Linked DNA regions of Homo sapiens: region 1 is linked to region 2. The links are contacts of gene promoters, found by promoter capture Hi-C in human tissues and cell types (Jung and others, 2019). All regions are on one chromosome and are shown on one strand. Each heading gives the region's core, a stretch centred on a gene start or on the middle of the fragment in contact. The rest is flanking DNA. Distances are from core to core; before and after follow the strand shown. Region 1 has its middle 32 kb from the start of SPARCL1. Region 2 holds the start of SPP1 (secreted phosphoprotein 1).

What was found. Contacts are between HindIII fragments. The study calls those that stand out against the background at their distance.
Region 1: a fragment that was not itself captured here is called in contact with the fragment with the promoter of SPP1 in region 2 in 1 of the 25 tissues and cell types used here (heart left ventricle).

Annotation. Positions count from the first base shown.
Region 1 is chr4:87,558,435-87,564,025 of GRCh38, forward strand. No RefSeq gene overlaps it. Among named protein-coding and RNA genes, the nearest start is that of SPARCL1, 32 kb to the left of the region's middle. The HindIII fragment of the contact is 3,080 bases long and covers 112-3,191 here.
Region 2 is chr4:87,971,901-87,976,996 of GRCh38, forward strand. It overlaps SPP1 (secreted phosphoprotein 1), which reads left to right and starts at 3,814. Exons shown (of 7, transcript NM_001040058.2): 1 at 3,814-3,900; 2 at 4,982-5,049. The coding sequence starts at 4,996. LOC124900730 (a long non-coding RNA gene) reads right to left here and starts at 1,869. Exons shown (of 2, transcript XR_007058172.1): 1 at 1,739-1,869. RefSeq lists promoters at 1,568-3,810, 2,810-3,897, 3,687-3,900, cis regulatory regions at 2,820-2,829, 3,045-3,053, 3,120-3,128, 3,566-3,581, 3,756-3,765 and 1 more and enhancers at 3,072-3,092, 3,455-3,954, 3,717-3,787. The HindIII fragment of the contact is 7,576 bases long and covers 940-5,096 here.

The DNA of each region.
Region 1 (5,591 bases), core at 402-2,901, 420 kb before region 2:
GATCAGGTAATGGAGACAGATCAGTGGTTGCCAAGGATTAAGGATGAGGATGGAGAGCGGGTGCGGCTATAAAGGGGTATCACAACAGAGCTCCTTTGTGGTGATGGAATCTATACGTGAGATAACATTTCATAGAACTATGCAAAACAATGACTGCATGTGAAAACCAATGGAATTTTAGTAGTCTATAGTCTAGTTAGTAGTATTCCTGGTTTTGATAATGCATTATACTTAAGTAAGATGTTACCTTTGGGGGAAACTGGGGGAAGGGCCCGCAGGACCTTTCTGTACTATTTTTTGCAATTTTTCTTGAGTTTATAATTATTTCAATAAATTAAAAATAATGACTACATTAACACATAAGCCATGACAGATTTCTTTCTTTCTTTACAAGGGAGCAATGCAATAGGAGGGAAAATGCCAAACTGCAAATTAAAAGAGTTCTGCTTTTATATGTCTGTCCCTCTGGGAATATTTCTTCTGAAGAAAGATTTCCCGGGATAAAGTTTGAAAACCACTTCTTAAAAGATTGTGGAAATTTCTTGAGACAATAAAAATCAAATCATGTGAAATCATTTAGTTTTTAATCAAGAAAAGGAGTTGTATTTTAGAAGGTGATCTGATACATTATTTGTTACAATCAAGGTTATACCTTCCAAGGGAAGTGATTACAAATAGCCACATAATTTAGACATGGTATTAGAATTCGTTGGTTTGTTATGAAATCACAGATGCTGATTTAACCCTAGCTAATATACTGTTTGCTGCATTGCAGAGAAATGAAATTGTTAGAGGACTCATCCTAGCAGTCACTTAAAACTGGCAGTTAGCTGGTGGCGTCATGATTTTTTGATCTGAGATCCAGATAGACAAGACACAGGATTTGTTGCCAAAGCAAACTGCATCTCTAGATACTCCAGCACTATTTATTTGCATTCATAAAATTTTGCTCTCATTCAGATATTTTGAACTGCAGAGCAGTTTGTGGTGGTTGTCCATTGCCTTGTGTAGCATGTACACAATGTTTTGTGTAGCATCTGTGGAGGCAAAGCTTTCTTGATAGGCTCTGTACAAATGGGGTTTGGATGGTTCACTGTCTGTGTTCAGCATATCTATCCAGAGCCCCAATTCGTCTCTCCTTCCGGTGACCGATGCCTGATTACTACTGTGGTACCTAGGCAGGGCCTCCGGGTAATTATAGAGTCGGCTCTGTGGTTGTCTTCCAGGAAATGGCAAGTACCAGTTGCCCTAGTGTGTCCCTGCAGACTTCACTCAAGGGACAACAGGAAACAAATGCCATATAAGGGCATCCCACGGCAGCTGCTGCTTTTCTGAGGACAATTGGAAGGTAGACAGGTTCTCTTTTGCCATTTCCATTACCCCTTTCTAGATCAATTTTAGCTCATTATTAAGAAAAATGTGTGGATATATGATGATCCTCAAAAGGACCTACATGAACTTTTCTTTTATCTTTTCTTTCTTCTTTTTCTTTTTCTTTCTCTTTTTTTTTTTTTTTTTTGAGACAGAGTTTTGCTCTTGTCACCCAGGCTGGAGTGCAATGGCACAATCTCGGCTCACTGCAACCTCCACCTCCCCGGTTCAAGTGATTCTCCTGCCTCAGCCTCGTGAGTAGCTGGAATTACAGGCGCCTGCCACTATGCCCGGCTAATTTTTGTATTTTTAGTAGAGATGGGGTTTCACCATGTTGGCCAGGCTAATCTCGAACTCCTGACCTCAGGCGATCTGCCTGCCTCAGCCTAAGTGCTGAGATTAGAGGCATGAGCCACCACGCCTGGCTACATGAAATTTTGCACCAGAGTTTTAGATACTTGCTGTTGACTTTCTTCTATTTACAGTGACTCTGAGAATGTATTTGCAGCTTTTTAAATATTATTAGCTTTCTGCTAAGTCTCCTGGAAAGTCCTTAAAAGAGTTTCTCTGTTTTTATCATTTATTTGAGAGAACAGTAGCTTTATTAGCTTGTAGCCAGAAATAGATTTTAACGTTATAACTCAATTCCCAGAATTAAATTTATCAGTTGTAGAAATTCAGCTCTGAACTGTTAACTTTTGCTGTATGATGTGAAATGAGAGCAGGAGGAGAGGAAGTATGTTACTGGCAGAAGACAAGTCAGACAGGATCTTCTCAGGTATCCTCATAGTCAATTGCTCTTGGCAACTTGTTCCATTTTCCTACCATCAGAGGAAGTTGACAGGATGTCATAACATGAAAGGAGGCCGTTGTAGGAAAAGCTTTGGAATGCCATGGACTATTATGTGGCCATTAAAAATAATGAATTAGAGGGCATCCAAATAATTTGCAGGAATTTCCATAAATTATTGTCGAATGAGGAAAACAAGAGGCCAAAGAGTGTGATGCTGTATGGAGCACTCAGCACTAGTCTCTCTTGCTCGCAGGTTGTACGTTTGGCAGGAGTAGCAGCTAAATCAACCTTGATGAATGGGAACCTAGGTTGGACATATGCATAGCCTCTCTCCCTGCCATGATGGTTACTTCATCCACTTGGCCATCTGATTGGGGTTGCTGATGACAGAGGCTGACTGATGTGAGTTGGCTGAGTCATTTTGTCTATGACTGGCTGTTTGGTGTTCCTTCCATGTTGGCACTCTTTGGTGGGTGTTAACATGTCTCATGAAACTCTTCATTCTTCATGCTTGTTCTTTAATGTCCAACTGCATGTCTATTTCCAACATCTCCTTTTTCTAGATTTTCCAATCTTTTCCTTTTTTAAGCCCCTGTGGTGGGTTGAACAGTGTCCCCCCAAAATTCATGTCCACCTCAAACCTCAGAATGTGACCTTATTTGAAAATAGTGTCTTTGCAGATGCAATTGGTTAAAAATCTTGAGATGAAACATCTTGGAATCGTCCTGAACATATCTTGACTTGTGTTTTTATAAGAAGAGGAGAGCACAAGAGAGCTCCATAGGGAAGAAGGTGATATGACAACAGTGGCAGAAATTGGAATGATGAGTCTGCAAGTCAAGGAACACCAAGAATTGCCAGCAATCACCAGAAGCTAGGAGAGAGGCCCGGGATGCTTTCTTCCTTGGAGCCTCCAGAAAAACCAACCCTGCTGACAACTTGATTTCAGACTTCTGGCCTCCTAAACCATGAGGGAGTAAATTATTTTTATTTTTTTTGTAGAGACAGAGTCTTGCTACATTGCCCAGGCTGATCTTGAACTCCTGGCCTCAAGAGATCCTCCTGCCTTGGCCTCCCAAAGCTCTGGAATTATAGGAGTGAATCACTGTACCCAGCCAAGAGGGAGTAAACTGAAGCTGCTCAATTTGTGGTCATTTCCATGGCAGCTCAGTGAAACTAGTACAGTCCCTGACCAGCAGGCCATGCGTTGGCCACTGTCCATAAGTCCATGTATATTTTAATCTTGGATCACTTCCTTTTTTGTACAAAGTGGATGATCAGGTACCCAGCTTGAAGCTCTAATCATGTGGAAAATTTCTCTTACCACCACCCTTCAAGGCTATCCCTTAAACTTCTATGACAGCAGATGTCTCTGACAATAAATTTAATATATTAAAACTGAAAATGTCTGAATATTAAAAGATATTTTGAAGAAAGTGGAAAAATAAACTGAGACAAAATATTCATGACACCCTGGCAAAGAATTGATAGCAATAATATCTAAAGGACCTAAAGGACATCTGTAAGCTAATAAAGAATGGCCATACCAGTGATTTAAAAATGGACAAAAGCCATGAATAGGAAGCTCACAGAAGAGATAAAACATATGGCCAATAAACCTACAAAGAGATACTCAAGTTCATTAGTGATCAGTGAAATGGATAACCAAAAATCAGGATGACAATGAGATACTATTTTAAACATAGTAAATTGGCAAGTTTAAAAAGTCTAATAACACAAAATATTGGGAAGGTTGTGGATCAGTAGATTAGTTTATAGTTTGCTGGTGGGAGTGTTCAACCACTTTAGCAAGGAATTTGGCATTATCTCTTAAAGCTGGAGACTCATATATCTATGATGAGTAATTCTACACTGGGCATATACTCAAAAGAAATTATTGCAGGTGTACATTAGGAGACATCTACAAGAATGTCCATGGAAGCATTTCTGTTTGAAATAGCAAAAGCTTTGAAAAAAACTTACATGCCTCATGACAGGAGAAGAGATAAATTGTGGTACCTTCATACAATAAAATATCTTACTGGAAAGAAAATGAATATAAACGATGCTAGAAATATAATTTGAATAAAAATTAAGCTCTCAAAAGGTTACATGTACTACAAAACACATTTTAAAAAGTTACAAACAACATGAAGGGTTGTTGAATTTTGTCAAAGGCTTTTTCTGCATCTATTGAGATAATCATGTGGTTTTTGTCTTTGGCTCTGTTTATATGCTGGATTACATTTATTGATTTGCGTATATTGAACCAGCCTTGCATCCCAGGGATGAAGCCCACTTGATCATGGTGGATAAGCTTTTTGATGTGCTGCTGGATTCGGTTTGCCAATATTTTAGGTATTGATGGGACGTATTTCAAAATAATAAGAGCTATCTATGACAAACCCACAGCCAATATCATACTGAATGGGCAAAAACTGGAAGCATTCCCTTTGAAAACTGGCACAAGACAGGGATGCCCTCTCTCACCGCTCCTATTCAACATAGTGTTGGAAGTTCTGGCCAGGGCAATCAGGCAGGAGAAGGAAATAAAGGGTATTCAATTAGGAAAAGAGGAAGTCAAATTGTCCCTGTTTGCAGACGACATGATTGTTTATCTAGAAAACCCCATCGTCTCAGCCCAAAATCTCCTTAAGCTGATAAGCAACTTCAGCAAAGTCTCAGGATACAAAATCAATGTACAAAAATCACAAGCATTCTTATACACCAACAACAGACAAACAGAGAGCCAAATCATGGGTGAACTCCCATTCACAATTGCTTCAAAGAGAATAAAATACCTAGGAATCCAACTTACAAGGGATGTGAAGGACCTCTTCAAGGAGAACTACAAACCACTGCTCAAGGAAATAAAAGAGGACACAAACAAATGGAAGAACATTCCATGCTCATGGGTAGGAAGAATCAATATCGTGAAAATGGCCATACTGCCCAAGGTAATTTACAGATTCAATGCCATCCCCATCAAGCTACCAATGACTTTCTTCACAGAATTGGAAAAAACTACTTTAAAGTTCATATGGAACCAAAAAAGAGCCCGCATCGCCAAGTCAATCCTAAGCCAAAAGAACAAAGCTGGAGGCATCACACTACCTGACTTCAAACTATACTACAAGGCTACAGTAACCAAAACAGCATGGTACTGGTACCAAAACAGAGATATAGATCAATGGAACAGAACAGAGCCCTCAGAAATAATGCCGCATATCTACAACTATCTGATCTTTGACAAACCTGAGAAAAACAAGCAATGGGGAAAGGATTCCCTATTTAATAAATGGTGCTGGGAAAACTGGCTAGCCATATGTAGAAAGCTGAAACTGGATCCCTTCCTTACACCTTATACAAAAATCAATTCAAGATGGATTAAAGATTTAAACGTTAGACCTAAAACCATAAAAACCCT
Region 2 (5,096 bases), core at 2,564-5,063:
TTATAGGTCTCGAGTTTATGCTGCTGTGGTTGATGTTGAGTGGGAAGGGGGACTTTCTGTTTGGATCCAATCCCAGAATACCCATCCCTTCAACTCCAATGTGGACACAGGGTCTCTACCATATACCTTCTCTACCCAGGGTGCTGCCAAGTTTACTGTTTAGCCACACCCCCTTAATCTCATTGGTTACTCAAGTTTCAAATTTCCTAGTTGATTTTCATGAACAAATGGGCTCCATGAGGGTAAGAATGGTGTCATTTAAGAAAAAAAAGTTAGTAATTTAAGTCTACCTTAAAAAAGTCTATCATTTAAAGAGCATTAGAATGTCCTCAGAGTTACTAATACTACTTTAATGAAGAAATAAATGCTAGATTCTTGAGTACAGGCAGATATTAGATATCAATATATGAGATATACTCTGAATTCAAGCATAGTGCCTATGCATTGTATTCATAAGCAAAAACTATAAGGTCAGAATTCGTGTCATAGATGCAGGGCTGAGTGGGCAATCACCAACAATTTATTGAGCACTTACTCCATAACAGTTCTATGTGTCTAAAGGAAAACTTTTTTTTATTTGTTTTAAATTGAAACTAATGTTTACCAATGGTACGACCACTTTGTCAGGAGCTGACTTTTGTTGTCTAAGCTATTGAGCAATGGAATAAAAGAGTTTATGGTGTTTTTGTTTTTTTTTTTTTGTATTTCTGAAATGCTCTAATTTCATGTCTGAACTTGAAAATAGCACCCTCTTATCATCCACCTTTGCTTGCTACCCTGTGATAAATAATGCCCCTTTTCCCAGTCTATATATGATGAATGGTGCTAGGCTTCCGATTAGCTTTAATTCCAAACTTCTTTATGACAGATTAGTGGTGTTACCAAAATATCAGAGTCATGTCTGAACCTTGACTCAAGGGAAAAAAATAATTACCTGTGGAGCTGAAAACACTGAAATAGTTGGTTACACTTTACTAAGTAAAATATAATTAGAAATGTTCAAATAAACTGGAAGTGAGTTTAATAAAGTTGTCCACCAAAGTAGTGACATTGAACACTTACTTTTTATTATATGGGAATTTTCATGTAATTCAGGAAAAAGACCTTAAGGCTCTTTATTTGTTTCCATGTGTCCTCTTAGTGTGTATAATTTAAGATCACAAATTACTCTTTGCATTCTAGTTTGACAACTAAACTTTTTTTACTTTCCACTCACAAGATTTATAGGGAATTTGTGCATTTTGACCTTTTGATTCTAACAACCAATCATTAGCCAATCAAGAATGGAAACTTTGGAAATATTACAGATAGAGCCACTGTGATTTAAATCATTTAACATGTTAATTCTGACAGAAAATCCTACTCAGAAAAAACAACCAGCAGCAGCATGTTTGAGTGCAAACAGCAAGAAACATCCCAAAACATGACCTCCCCGATAGTCAGAATGACGCAGCATCCATTTCCTACTTTACAGAATTGCCTCCCATTATAAATCACTTTATCTTCTCAACTCCAAAGCATCCCAGACACATTCTTTACCCGTGAATTCACAAGCCTTTTCTCTGAGAGAGGCCTTGGGACTAGGAACTTTTTGAATGAGTGTAGAAGTCGGGAAGGAGACAATAGTGTCAACTTGGGATTGCCTAAGGCAACAACAGAGCAAAACAAGAACGCTTTGGTTCTCTGGGTCTCTGTCCCTGATTGCATAGCGGGTCATTGTTGGGAAATATTTCCTCACCTGGCATTCCAAGAAATGGAGAGCTCCACAGCTGTATATAGTCCTGTCATTAAATACAGGAGTGTTCTATCCCGCTGGAATTAAGAAAATTGGTAGAACCAGATTGTGGTCTGAAATCTTTTTTCAGAAATGCTGCCATCGTGTGGCACTGCGGAGCTATGACCAGAAGAGTCCTGTAAAGGGTCGTATGGTTCATCTCAAGATGGCTGGGCTCCAGCATAATCTATTCCTATAATTAATTCTAGCTTCATATTGAATCATTCCCGTGGGCACAGAGTAAACTACAGTAAATCCTGTGGAAATTTTGTTGTTTTTAGAATTTTCAGACTTCCCTCCACTAAATTGACAACATGACACGCTTATGCGGGTATGTTTAAAGGAAAAAAATAGTTTTTAGAAGCAGAAAAAAGAAGTCTATTTTGCAACTTTATAATCTGTGTGCTTTCTATTTTATAGAGATAGTCGTCATCTTACTTATTAAAATGGGTGCTTATTACCTACAAACCAATCATATCAATTCATCTGGAATACATCCAATTTAAGGGAGACATATTTCCCCCTACCAAATGTTCATGAAACCTATGAATTAGCTATACACTATCACTGCAAGACATTATTTAATCTATATTTATATTAAAAGTAATATTTGGCAAAAGGAAGCTGACACTTTAGGACTAATAAAAACCACAATTACTTTTGCAGCAACCTAATAATAAATAGGACCATTTATTTTTCATCTCAATTACACACAAGTCTTAACAATAAAGGTGTAAGGTAAATAAATAGTGCAATCTGCATTTCACAACTGAGAAAGCAAATGAAGATAAGTAATCTCAAGGCAATATTAAATATTTTAAAAGGACCCAGAGCTCTGCTATCCCTGAATTCTGCTCTAATATTCGGACTTTCCCTGTAATTTTCTTTCATTCAGACACCTTTTAAATACCTAGTAAAGTGTTTTTTAATACAGAAATTTTTAAAAATGTTTTTCTTTTTAAGTGGCCTACTTTACATACCTTGGGAGAAAAACTAGAAAAAAAGATGATTCCAAAATCGAATCTGTTCCTTTAGAAATGTGCAAAATTTCCTTATTGATGCATACAATTTAAAGATCTTACGTCTACTCTCATTTTAATAACCTGTTCTTTTAAAGGACATTACAATTCGTGACTGCCTGCCCCTCTTAAAAATTTCATAATAGTTAACACACATATAGTCCTTAAGATACGCAGAGCATTTGCATCTAATATGTGCTAAGCATTGCTAGTTTAACATACTAATTCATTTAAACCCCTCAAAAACCCCATGACCTAGGTAATAGTATTGCATTTCATGGATGAGGGAACAAGGATAGGTAGGCTGGGCGATTTGCCCAAGGTTGCACAGGTCAGCAGTGACACAGCGGAATTCAGAACCACGGTCTGGCTCCTGAAGCAGCCCTCTCAAGCAGTCATCCTGCTCTCAGTCAGAAACTGCTTTACTTCTGCAACATCTAGAATAAATTACCATTCTTCTATTTCATATAGAATTTTATATTTTAATGTCACTAGTGCCATTTGTCTAAGTAACAAGCTACTGCATACTCGAAATCACAAAGCTAAGCTTGAGTAGTAAAGGACAGAGGCAAGTTTTCTGAACTCCTTGCAGGCTTGAACAATAGCCTTCTGGCTCTTCAATAAGTACAATCATACAGGCAAGAGTGGTTGCAGATATTACCTTTATGTTACTTAAACCGAAAGAAACAAAAATCCATTCTATTTAATTTTACATTAATGTTTTTCCCTACTTTCTCCCTTTTTCATGGGATCCCTAAGTGCTCTTCCTGGATGCTGAATGCCCATCCCGTAAATGAAAAAGCTAGTTAATGATATTGTACATAAGTAATGTTTTAACTGTAGATTGTGTGTGTGCGTTTTTGTTTTTTTTTGTTTTAACCACAAAACCAGAGGGGGAAGTGTGGGAGCAGGTGGGCTGGGCAGTGGCAGAAAACCTCATGACACAATCTCTCCGCCTCCCTGTGTTGGTGGAGGATGTCTGCAGCAGCATTTAAATTCTGGGAGGGCTTGGTTGTCAGCAGCAGCAGGAGGAGGCAGAGCACAGCATCGTCGGGACCAGACTCGTCTCAGGCCAGTTGCAGCCTTCTCAGCCAAACGCCGACCAAGGTACAGCTTCAGTTTGCTACTGGGTTGTGCATTCAGCTGAATTTCATGGGGAAGTCCAAATTCTAAGGAAAAATATTTTTAATTGTAATGCTGTTAAACAGACTTAAATTTTCTAGCCTTTTTAATAAGCAGATTAGATACATTGCAGGTCTCCTGGAACAAAGGTGTCTAGATATTTTGAATGCCAATCAAATTTAAAACTTAAAAATACTTCCACTGGGTCCTCAAAAGAACGGAAACCACCGATGCTAATCAGAAAATAGTAAAATTAAATTCCCCTTTGGAATAATTATACCTATATAATTTTCAGTGGGTGACTGTGCAGGAATTTAAAAGAAAAGGGATCTTTTATGCTAATTAAACCAATTACAATGCTATTTTTTAAATGATGTATCTCACTTTTAAGGGGAAGAAAACCCTTTCTGAATATGCCACTGCTAAATTTAGCTGTTAAAATATTCACCAAGATACCTGTATGACACTGTGTAGGCTTATTATTACAAATAGAAAAGCTGTTGGCTATTTTCAATGTTTTCCTTTGAATTTCAAATTTTTAGAACATCTTACTTAAATAACAAATTTCAGAGATAGTTTGATTTCACCTAAGTAGCACCTACTTGATAATTAAGCTAAAAGTCACATTTAAAGTACATGTTGGAAAAATGGATAAAGCAAATTTTTTTCATTTTTTTCTGTGAGTTTTTTCTTCTCTAAAAAATATTCCCATACTAGCTTATTAATATAATTAAGTTACTGTTGATCTGTTTGTAGGTTTAGAGAGCTAGATATATAAGGTAGTAATGGTATAATTTCTGGAACTCTAAATTTTAAAGTTGAATAAATACAGACTTGCAAAATTTCCCTTTCCCTTGCCTAATAGTGAAAGATGGATAATAGGTGGCAATATAAATATTAACTTGAAAGACTATAATACTAAAAAGAAAAGGCATCTCTAAGAAGTAGAAAAGATTCTATAGAAAATATATTTTATTTGTGATCATTTTGTAATGTGGTAGTATAAAAAGGTATCACTGTTGTAACCTATGAAGATGTCAGCTATTCCTTATGAAATATTTTGCAGGAAAACTCACTACCATGAGAATTGCAGTGATTTGCTTTTGCCTCCTAGGCATCACCTGTGCCATACCAGTGAGTACAGTTGCATCTTAAAGAAAATTCCTGAAAATAACTGAATT